4 separate regions of the Homo sapiens genome follow, and regions 1, 2 and 3 are each linked to region 4. Evidence: promoter capture Hi-C in 16 types of primary human blood cells and fetal thymus (Javierre and others, 2016). All regions are on one chromosome and are shown on one strand. Each heading gives the region's core, a stretch centred on a gene start or on the middle of the fragment in contact. The rest is flanking DNA. Distances are from core to core; before and after follow the strand shown.

Region 1 (2,700 bases), core at 187-2,686, 880 kb before region 4:
CAAACTCATCCCTGAGGGAAGCTTACTCATTGAGGTATTGGGGAGTTGCGCTGGCATGTGAGGAAGTGCCCTGGGGAAAAAAACGCAGAGGTGTGGGACCAATCCTGACTGTGCACACGTATTCCGCCATGTGCGGGTTTGAGGCACCACGGAGGTCCCTGCAGGAGCCCTGGGAAAGGTACATCCAGAGAGGGGAGAAGAGGACAGAGCAAAACTAGGAACAAAACTGGGCTTGAGGACTGTGGAACAGCTGACTATTGAGGAACAGAAGAACTGACTGAAAGCCAATGTGTTCAGCTACTGTAAAGTATCTCACTTAATTCTCTATTCTGTGGGACAGAGGGCTGGAATACTTGAAGATTTGTCTAAGCTGGGATCTGAAATATTAGCTCCCTTTGACTCCAAAGCTCCTGGAGTGCAGCAGCGCGATCTCGGCTCAACCTCCGCCTCCCGGGTTCAAGCGATTCTCCTGCCTCAGCCTCCTGAGTAGATGGGATTACAGGCGTGTGCCAGCAAGCCCGGCTAGTTTTTGGTTTTAGCACAGACGGGGTTTCACCATGTTGGCCAGGCTGGTCTCCAACTCCTGACCTCAGGTGATCCGCCCGCCTCAGCCTCCCAAAGTGCTGGGATTACAGGTGTGATCCACTGCGACCGGCCTCCTTCCTTTTTTAACTACATTGAGCTGCCTTCCTCCCCCAAGCCCCAAACCTTGGGACACCAGAGGCGGATAACCAGAGCCCTTTTCTGGGTAGAAAAGAGATAACCAGAGCCCTTTTCTGGGTAGAAGAGAGAGAGATGATTGAGAATTTAAAGAGGGCAATGAAGGATTACGAGAGGGGGTAACGGGCAGTTCTGCCTTCGTGCGTCTTAACAGCTATTTATTCAACATTTTCTGTGTGCCTTCTCTGTGTGTGTCAGGCGCCACGTTAGAAATGGATAAGAAACAGTCCTGCCCTCCAGGGCCTTACAGTCCGGTGAGAAGTCATATAAGTAAACAGGGCTGAACGAGAAGGCAGTAACTGCCCAAAGTGGGGATGGCAGGGCGCTCCCGCGGTGAACGTGGACACCTATCAGGTGCTGAGTAAATGCTGGCAAAATGAAGACAGGATGAAAAATAGAGAAGGGGCAGGGGTAGAACATGGCCGTGAAGGGTGGAAAGGCGGGGGCGATGAGAAGCTACAGGGGACCCCACCGACCAGTCCCAGGTCCCGTGGCCCGCCCCCTCCTCTCAGGGCCGGGGAGGGCCCGGCGGCGAGGCCGGAGAGTGGGGACCCCGCTTGACTGCATCCCAGACCCCCGTGGCCCCAGAATCCCGTCGGCCCACGCCGAGCTGCTCAGGACTCGCCGGGCCGGGCCGGGCCAGTCCCCGCCACCCCGGCTTGCTCGCCCTCTCACCTTCACCTTCCCGGCCTCGCGGCGGCCATCACACTCACTACGTCACCAGCGAGCGCCACCCCAGGGGGAGGCGGGAGGAGGGAAGTGGATAAGCGCGTCACCAGTCGCCTCAGATTGCCCCTCGACCCGGGTGAGCTGGTGGACCCTGAGCCCAGCCGGCTCGCCCCGCCTACTCCTTACGCCTCTGCTGCCCCGCGACTCGGCGCTTCGAGCGGCGTCTCAGCGCGCCACTCCTCCGCGCGCCACTCCTCCGCCGGCGCGTCCCAAGCGGACGACGCAGAGGCTCGGACTCCCACTGCATCATGGGGGCTGTAGTTCCGGTGGGCGTCGGCCGGAGCTGGGGGGGCGGGGCAAAGCGGGGCGGAGCCTCAAGCTGTCAAGGGGCGAAAAACCAAGGGCGTGGAGTAGAGGTTCCCGCTTTTTCGCCGGTTGTCCTAGAGCCTGACCCTGGGGCCTCTGCCAGCTCTGGAATCCAGATTTGCATTCTGTAATCTTAGAGGAGTGTTCTCTAGAGGGCCAGGCCTAGGGTGAAGTGACTCATCGGGCAGACAGAAGCGAGCATGGGCCTGCTGCCCTTCAGTCGCCTTTGAGGAAAGAAGAGCAGCAACAACGGCGAATCAATGCCAGTGACTGAACTGCGTCTCTAACATCCACCGCTGTATTTAACGTCCACAGCAGTCCCAGGAGAGGGAGAGGAGAGGTTACCCAAGCTCACATGGTTACCCAGATCACCGGGCCCCAGTGATGCGGCAGACACTACTAGGAAACCGCAGCAAACAGATCCCTTGCAGGACTTGGCCTCCGCAGAGAAGGCTCCAAGCCTGAGCGCGCCAGAACAGTAGGCACTAGCCACGTGTGGCTCTCGAGTCCTGAGCCAGTGCAAACGGAGATGCGCTATAAGACTTAGGACAAAAAAGGCTGTTAAACTATCTCAATTTTTAGGAAAAAAAAATATCGACCGGGCGCGGTGGCTCAAGCCTGTAATTCCAGCATTTTAGGAGGGCGAGGCGGGTGCATCGGGAGTTCAAGACCAGCCTGGCCAACATGGTGAAACCCCGTCTGTACTAAAAATACAAAAATTAGCCAGGCATGATAGTGCACTCGGGAGGAAGAGGCAGGAGAATCGCTTGAACACGGGCGGTGGAGGTTGCAGTGAGCCGAGATCATGCCACTGCACTCCAGCCTGGGCAACAGAGACTCCGTCTCAAAAAAGAAAAAAAAAATCTATCTTTGAGCCAGAGTCTCACTCTCACTCAAGCTGGAGTGCAGTGGTGCAATCACGGCTCACTGCAGCCTCGAACTCCT
Region 2 (2,700 bases), core at 15-2,514, 590 kb before region 4:
TGTAGACTCCCCTCCCCTCCCCTCCCTTCCTCCACAGGGTGTGTGAACCAGCACCAAGCGGCACCCCACAATTTCCACACACATCCCTATAGGTAGGGACTAGCACCATCCCTGTTTTGTGACAGGAACACTGAGGCTCAGAGAGGTGCATTCCTTTGTCCGAGATCACTCCCAGAGCCCCAGTGTACCCGACTCCAGATGCATAGTACTGAACCGGTTCCAGACACCAGTGTGTCACTGGGCTGGGAGGTGGGCAGCGTGGAGGGAGCATATAGGGCAGGGGAGACCACCGGGCGGAGAGGATGGCCCAGGGAGCACCCAGCTGAGGAAAGCAAGAAAGACTTGGCGGGAAACCCCAGCCCTCTCTCATCTCATACCCCGGCCCCGAAGGCGGCTGAGACCCTTGACGAGCGGACGGAGAAAAGCCAAAAGCCGGCGGTGGGGAGCAGGAGGGACAGAGCGGGAGACCACAGGCGAAAGACCAGCGCCGTCGGGGGAGCCAGGCTGAGTACCTTCCTGGGCACAGATGGGACGGCGCGGGGCCACCGGCGGTGCTGGTTCCGGGCGCACTCAGCGACCCCGGCCACACACCCCAGCCTCCTGGGCGGCCTCGAAAGGGGCTGGAGGGCACGCCCGCCAGCTCTGCCCGGGGCTCAGGGAGTCTTCGAAGACTTCTTCCAACGGTGGCGGACTGGGGCCCCCTGCCTGAGAGACCACCCGGAGACTCAGAGACAGAGAGACAAAGGGAGACTGGGTCAGGGAGAGAGAAGGCTAGTGCCGAGGAGAGTAGGTGCGAGCCGGGACCCCAGAGGGCGGCGAGGGCGCGCGCGAGGCCGAGTGTCAGAGCGTGGAAAAGTGGGCGTCCAGCGGTAGGTGGACGGATGGGGAGCCCGGGAGCAGAGCCAGGGTCCGTGGGCAGACGCGGCGAGGAGAGGAGGCGGCGGAAGGACTGGCGGATAGACGGGTCCGAGGGCTGGGAAGGAGGCAGCATCCTCACTTCCAGCCTCGGGACCCCGCGCACCCCGCCCCTGGGCGCGCCAGGTAGCCCACCTTTGTCCGGGCTCGCAGCCAGGTGGGGCGGGAGGGGCGGAGCCAGGGGCGGGCCGAGGCCGTGCCTTACCTGTCCGGCCGGCGGGTAGGGGGAGGAGGGGCTCGGGGCCGAGCGCCCGCGGGAGCCGAGCGCAGCCGAGGGCGAGCCGCGGAACGGGGCCGGCGTGGAGAGGTGCGCGGGCAGCCGGAGGATGTGCCCGGGCTGAGCGGGACTGGAAGGAAGGGGGAGTGGGCGGGCAGGAGGGAAGGGGGCGGGAGCGCGGGGAGGGGACAGAGGAGGGGCGGCGGGTGGCGGGCTCGACTGCCCCCAGCCGAGGGGCAGCCCCGGGGCCGGGCCCGGCGCGCACCCGGCCAGCGCGCCCTCGCCAGCTGCGCTCTGAGTTCTGGGCCAGCTCCCCAGAGGCCTAGGCGCCGCCGCCGCGAGGGCGCGGGGCAGACAAAGGAGGCAGACAAAGGCGGGCGCAGCCCAGCAGCCGTGCGGGCACCGGGCGAGGCAGGCCCACTCCTCCCGGTGCGTAAGAGCCGCCTCGGCGCGGCCCAGGGCGCGTGGGACGGGAGGGGCTCCGGCAGTTGTGGCGCCTCTGGAGCGGCCCCGCGCAGGGCGGGCGACAAAGGGCCGCGGCGGGCGGTCCTCGGTGGACCCCAACAATGGAGCGAGGCTGCGCGCTCAGCTGCGGCCGCGTCTGTCAGGGCAGGGGCCCGGGGCCACAAAAGGATTATTCCGCCTAGACTGTCAAAAGGGACGGAAGAAATGCCCAGGGCGGGGGAGGCGGGACGGGGAACGGCGGGGCCTTTGTAGCCGCAGAAAGTGCGCAGAGTGGGCAGGCGGGGTTCTCCGAGAGGTCGCTCCTGGATGTAGGGGTACAAAGGGTCTTCAAAGTGCTACCAGCTCACCTGGGGCGCTGACGGCGCACCTGTGCCCTCTTTCCCGGTAGGGAAGGGAGAAAGACAACCGCCCCAATACACACACACACAAACACACACACACACACACTCACACGCGGCGCGGCTCTCGCCACGCCCCGTCCAAAGCCGGCCTGAAGCTTCTCAGACCGGCCCAACCCGGACAAAGCCAGCGCTGGGGCCGGCTCATCCATCACCGCGCGGGGCGCCGTGTCCTGACGACCCTGGGAGTCTGAGAATGCTGGGTTATGGGTCCCGTGCCTCCCATAACTCACGACGGGGTCGGTGGGGCCACGGACGCTGCAAAGATCAAAGAGCGATGGGGCCGGACTCCCATATGTGGGAAGCAGCGCTCCCACCTGGCGCCCTGAGCTCGCCAGGTGGCTTCCATTTCGACTGTTTTCTTTCTCCAGCGTGTGGCAAATTATGACTTTGAGGTTTTAGAACACAGTTCTGCCGTCAGGCTAAATGTCTGTGTTCCTCTTCTGATGCCGTCCCCTATGACCTCGAGCAAGTCGCCTGACCTCTGAGCTCATGATTATACCTAAATTTCAGTGTTCTAGGCGTGAATGCAGTGCCCTGTGTAAGGAGATAACGTTTCTAAGGTCTGGCCCATAGGAAATGCTCCTGTAAAATTAGCTGCCATTGTTACCGTGATATTATTAGCTTGGTGGGCACCAGGATGGATTGATGAGAACACTGAACTGTTTATTCACTGAAAGGTTTGAGTCATCCATCCCATAAATA
Region 3 (2,700 bases), core at 29-2,528, 830 kb before region 4:
CCACCACCACGCCCAGCTAATTTTTGCATTTTTATTTTTTTATTTTTATTTATTTATTTTTTTTTTTTTGAGACAGAGTCTCCCTCTGTCACCCAGGCTGGAGTGCAGTGGCGCGATCTTGGCTCACTGCAAGCACCGCCTCCCGGGTTCACGCCATTCTCCTGCCTCAGCCTCCCGAGTAGCTGGGACTACAGGCGCCTGCCACCACGCCTGGCTAATTTTTTATATTTTTAGTAGAGACAGGGTTTCACCGTGTTAGCCAGGATGGTCTCGATCTCCTGATCTCGTGATCTGGCGGCCTCGGCCTCCCAAAATGCTGGGATTACAGGCGTGAGCCACCGTGCCCAGCCTAATTTTTGTATTTTTAGTAGAGACAGGTTTTCACCATGTTGGTCAGGCTGGTTTCGAACTCCTGACCTCAAGTGATTTGCCCATCTCAGCCTCCTAAAGTGCTGGAATTACAGACGTGAGCCACCACTCCTGGCCTCTGGTGGTTCCCCTTCCCCTCCTCCTCCCTTTTCCTTTCTTCTTCTTTCTTCCTCTTCTTCTCTCTCCTTTTTTTTTCCTCCACTTTTTCGTATTGTTCCAAGTGTTTTTTTGCAGTGAGGATAGTCTTTTTTTTTTTTTTTTTTTTTGAGACAGAGTCTCACTCTGTCGCCCAGGCTGGAGTGCAGTGGCGTGATCTCGGCTCACTGCAAGCCTGCAACCTCCGCCTCACGGGTTCAAGCAGTTCTCCTACCTCAGCCTCCTGAGGAGCAGGGATTACAGGCATGCGCCACCACGCCCGGCTAGTTTTTGTATTTTTAGTAGAGATGGGGTTTCACCATGTTGGTCAGGCTGGTCTCAAACTGCTGACCTCGTGATCCGCCCGCCTTGGCCTCCCAAAGTGCTGGGATTACAGGCGTGAGCCACCGCGCGCGGCGAGAGGATGGTCATTTTTACAGAAACAAAGTTGTTGTGTGTGTGTGTGTGTATGTTTTTAAATTTTGGGGCTGTTGAATCCATCAGTAGCAAAGGGGCCCAACACGTGTTCGGTTTGGCTGGCTCGATGTTTTTTTCACGAGTGAATTGGATGCTTCCAGTCCTCCCCAGACCCCTGCACTTAACTCCACTGGACTTCACTCTTCCGGCCTGGGAACGAGTGGTCCCGCCCCCGGCAGCTTTTGTCCCGCCCTCGCCGTGGCTCCGCCCCCTTCTCTCCGGCCTGCTCTCTCTCCTCCCTCCGCCCTCCCGTTTTCCATCTGTCGTAAAAGACACGGCGACGCTTGACCGCCGGCGTCGTTTGACGGCTGGAGGCCACCGAGAAGAAGGAGGAAGCAGGGGTGGCGGCTGCTGCGGCGGTTGCGGCGGGGGCCGGGGTGGGCGCCGCGGTCCGGGCCGGGCAGTGAGGCGCGGGCGGCCGGGCCGGTGGGCTGGGCGGCGGGCCCGGCGGCCGCCCTCGCACCCTTGCCCGCGCCTGGCGGCCCGATGTGGCTGCAGCAGCGGCTCAAGGGGCTGCCGGGACTGCTGTCGAGCAGCTGGGCCCGCCGCCTCCTCTGCCTGCTTGGCCTCCTGCTGCTGCTTCTGTGGTTTGGGGGGTCCGGCGCGCGGCGGGCGGCGGGCGGCCTGCACCTGCTGCCCTGGTCCCGCGGTGAGCCGGGCGCCGCCGAGCCGTCTGCCTGCCTGGAGGCGGCCACCCGCGCCTGGCGCGGCCTGCGGGAGCGCGGTGAGGTGGTACCGCTGGGTCCTGGAGTGCCGGCCCTGGTGGCCAACGGCTTCCTGGCCCTGGACGTGGCTGCCAATCGGCTGTGGGTGACTCCCGGGGAGCGGGAGCCCGCCGTGGCGCCGGACTTTGTGCCCTTCGTGCAGCTGCGCCCGCTGAGCGCGCTGGCTGAAGCTGGAGAGGCGGTGCTGCTGCTGCGGGAGGGGCTTCTGCGCCGCGTGCGTTGCCTGCAGCTGGGGTCCCCAGGTCCTGGCCCCGTGGCCGCCGGCCCCGGGCCCGCCTCCGTCTCTGGCCTTGCCGCGGGGTCCGGCCGCGACTGCGTGCTGCTGCAAGAGGACTTTCTGGCGCACAGGGGCCGACCCCACGTCTACCTGCAGCGCATCCAGCTCAACAACCCCACGGAGCGCGTGGCCGCGCTGCAGACTGTGGGGCCCACTGCCGGCCCAGCCCCCAAGGCCTTCACCAGTACCCTGGAGAAGGTCGGAGACCATCAGTTCCTCCTCTACTCAGGCCGGTCCCCGCCTACGCCCACTGGGTTGGTGCACCTGGTGGTGGTGGCCGCCAAGAAGCTGGTGAACCGCCTCCAAGTGGCTCCCAAGACGCAGCTGGATGAGACGGTGCTGTGGGTGGTGCACGTCTCTGGCCCCATTAACCCCCAGGTGCTCAAAAGCAAAGCAGCCAAGGAGCTCAAGGCGCTGCAGGACTTGGCACGGAAGGAAATGCTGGAGCTCTTGGACATGCCAGCGGCGGAGCTGCTTCAAGACCACCAGCTCCTCTGGGCTCAGCTCTTCAGCCCAGGTGAGTCCTGGCCAGCGCTTGGTCCACCCTAGATATGTCCCTCCCAAGTCTGCAGAGGTGACACTGAAGGTGATGGTGGGGTGGTTGAAACTTGGGCTTGGCGTTTCACCAGTGGTTGAATCTGCTCAACTGCTTAGTGTCTGTGCGACCTTTGGATTCGTCGCCTAATCTCTCTGGGCCTGTATTTAATAACAATAACG
Region 4 (2,700 bases), core at 79-2,578:
TTGGTTTCCTGTTCAGTATTGTATTCTCAGGGCCTAGATTAGATTGGGGTTTGGCACTAAATGAGTGCTTTTTTTGATGGATGAAGAGTAGATACCTTGTATACGATAGATCAAAAAAATGACATACCAAATGAATGGGGATCCCTGTGTAAACATGCCATCTTTTCTTGTTTTTGACAGTTTGCTCTTGGGTCCGTGGTGGCAGTCACCAAGGCATCTGGGGGCCTACCACAGTTTGGCGATGAGTATGATTTTTACCGAAGTTTTCCTGGCTTCCAAGCATTTTGCGAAACACAGGGAGACAGGTTGCTTCAGTGGTAAGTACTGTACTTTGTTTTCTTGTGTTAGTGAAAAGAAATGAAAACAAAGAAGTAGATAAATTTTTCCTGAAATTTATTTTTCCTTAAACATTTTCTGTGGTATGAAGAGCTATAAAATGTGAAAATTGAAGCAATGGATTTTGATTAGGGAAATATTACTTGGTATATTTTTAGTTTAGCCTTTAAAAAATGTATTGACTTTTGTACTGAAAAAATATATTGACTTTTGTACAAATCTTTTTTAATTAAATGGGACGTGAACACTTAGAGCCAAGATTCTTTTTTTTTTTTGAGACGGAGTCTCGCTCTATTGCCCAGGCTGGAGTGCGGTGGCATGATCTCGGCTCACTGCAAGCTCCGCCTCCCAGGTTCACGCTATTCTCCTGCCTCAGCCTCCTGAGTAGCTGGGACTACAGGTGCCCGTCAACACGCCCAGCTAATTTTTTGTATTTTTAGTAGAGACAGGGTTTCAACATGTTAGCCAGGATGGTCTCGATCTCCTGACCTCGTGATCCACCTGCCTCGGCCTCCCAAAGTGCTGGGATTACAGGCGTGAGCCACCGCGCCTTGCCAGATCCAAGATTCTTTCCCACAACTTGTAGAGTAGCAGGTATTTTTATTTTTATTTTTATTTTTTTTGAGATGGAGTCTCGCTCCATCACCCAGGCTGGAGTGCATTGGCTCAATCTCGGCTCACTGCAACCTGCGCCTCCCAGGTTCAAGCGATTCTCCTGCCTCAGCCTCCCGAGTAGCTGGGATTATAGGTGTACACCACCACGACCAGCTTTTTTTTTTTTGTTGGGGGGGAGTACGGAGTCTTGCTCTGTCGCCCAGGCTGAAGTGCAGTGGCGTGATCTCGGCTCGCAGCAACCTCCACCTCCCAAGATCAAGCGATTCTTGTGCCTCAGCCTCCCCAGTAGCTGGGATAACAGGCATGTACGACCATTCCCGGCTAATTTTTGTATTTTTAGTAGAGGAGGTTTCACCATGTTGGCCAGGCTGGTCTCGAACTCCTGACCTTGTGATCCACCCACCTCAGCCTCCCATAGTGTTGGGATTACAGGTATAAGCCACTGCGCCTAGCCAGTTTTTTGTATTTTTAGTAGAGATGGGGTTTCACCATGTTGGCCAGGCTGGTCTCGAAGTCGTGACCACTCCTGAAGTGCTAGGATTACAGGTGTGAGCCACTGCGCCCAGCTAGGGTGCAAGTTTTATTGGTTTCATCAAAAAGTATCAGGGGCCAGACATGGCGGCTCATGCCTGTAATCCTAGTGCTTTGGGAGGCAAAGGCAGAAGGATCGCTTGAGCCCAGGAGTTCAAGACCAGCCTGGGCAACGTAGGGAGACTCCATCCCTACAAAAAATTTTTAAAGTAGCTGGGAGTGGTGGTGCACCACTCCCAAGTCACAGCTACTTGGGAGGCTGAGGTGGGAGTATCACTTGAGCCCAGGAGTTCAAGGCTACAGGGAGCTGTGATTGTACTGCTGCATTCCAGCCTGGGTAACAGAGCAAGACCCTGTCTCTTTAAAAAAAAAAAAAAAAAAAAGAAAGAAAGAAAGAAAGAAAAAGGCTGGGCTCATGGCTCACACCTGTAATCCCAGAACTTTGGGAGGCCGAGGCAGGTGGATCACTTCAGGTCAAGAGTTCGAGACCAGCCTGGCCAACGTGGTGAAACGTCATCTTTACTAAAAATACAAAAATTAGCCAGACCTGGTGGCGTGTGCCCATAATCCCAGCTACTCAGGAGGCTGAGGCATGAGAATCGCTTGAATCCGGGAGTCGGAGGCAGGCAGATCACTTCGGGTCAGGAGTTCGAGAGCAGCCTGGCCAACATGGCAAAACCTCATCTTTACTAAAAATACAAAAATTAACCAGACCTGTTGGCATGTGCCTATAATCCCAGCTACTCAGGAGGCTGAGACACGAGAATCGCTTGAACCCGGGAGGTTGAGGTTGCAGAGAGCCAAGATCATGCCACTGAACTCCAGCCTGGGCAACAGAGCAAGACTGTCTCAAAAAAAAAAAAAAAGATGTGTTGGGAACAGTCTGAGCCACATCATTTGAACATTCTCTCTCACAGAATGTAAACAAGTGAAATAAAAATCTACAAGCTAACCTTGGTTTTCCTTTCCTTAGCATGAGCAGAGTAATGCAGTACCATGGGTGTCGCAGCAACATTAAGGATCGAAGTAAAGTGACTGAGCTGGAAGACAAGTTTGATTTACTAGTTGATGCCAATGATGTAATTCTGGAGAGAGTGGTGAGTATTTTCCCTTACTCTTTTTTTTGTTTTGTTTTGTTTTTGAGACGGAGTCTCGCTCTGTCGCCCAGGCTGGAGTGCAGTGATGCGATCTCGACTCACTGCAAGCTCTGCCTCCCGG

The links. The method cuts DNA at HindIII sites, captures the fragments that hold promoters and counts their contacts. A CHiCAGO score of 5 or more calls a contact.
Region 1: a contact is called between the fragment with the promoter of MFN2 here and a fragment that was not itself captured in region 4, in 4 of 17 cell types (neutrophils, total B cells, naive B cells and 1 more). The highest score is 5.8, in neutrophils.
Region 2: a contact is called between the fragment with the promoter of DRAXIN here and a fragment that was not itself captured in region 4, in 1 of 17 cell types (total B cells). The highest score is 5.2, in total B cells.
Region 3: a contact is called between the fragment with the promoter of KIAA2013 here and a fragment that was not itself captured in region 4, in 2 of 17 cell types (total B cells and naive B cells). The highest score is 6.6, in total B cells.

The regions. Positions count from the first base shown.
Region 1 is chr1:11,979,180-11,981,879 of GRCh38, reverse strand. MFN2 (mitofusin 2) reads right to left here and starts at 1,436. Exons shown (of 19, transcript NM_014874.4): 1 at 1,396-1,436. RefSeq lists silencers at 1,151-1,390, 1,561-1,820. The HindIII fragment of the contact is 7,841 bases long and covers 24-2,700 here.
Region 2 is chr1:11,690,274-11,692,973 of GRCh38, reverse strand. DRAXIN (dorsal inhibitory axon guidance protein) reads right to left here and starts at 1,264. Exons shown (of 7, transcript NM_198545.4): 1 at 1,121-1,264. It also overlaps a transcript of MAD2L2 not described here. RefSeq lists enhancers at 1,949-2,456, 2,457-2,700. The HindIII fragment of the contact is 12,625 bases long and covers 1-2,095 here.
Region 3 is chr1:11,925,005-11,927,704 of GRCh38, reverse strand. It overlaps KIAA2013, which reads left to right and starts at 1,278. Exons shown (of 3, transcript NM_138346.3): 1 at 1,278-2,500. The coding sequence starts at 1,468. RefSeq lists enhancers at 1,059-1,353, 1,008-1,671, 1,672-2,334 and a silencer at 1,354-1,423. The HindIII fragment of the contact is 9,969 bases long and covers 1-2,700 here.
Region 4 is chr1:11,095,637-11,098,336 of GRCh38, reverse strand. It overlaps EXOSC10 (exosome component 10), which reads left to right. Exons shown (of 25, transcript NM_001001998.3): 2 at 181-317; 3 at 2,456-2,579. Among named protein-coding and RNA genes, the nearest start is that of EXOSC10-AS1, 2.7 kb to the left of the region's middle. The HindIII fragment of the contact is 3,359 bases long and covers 1-2,700 here.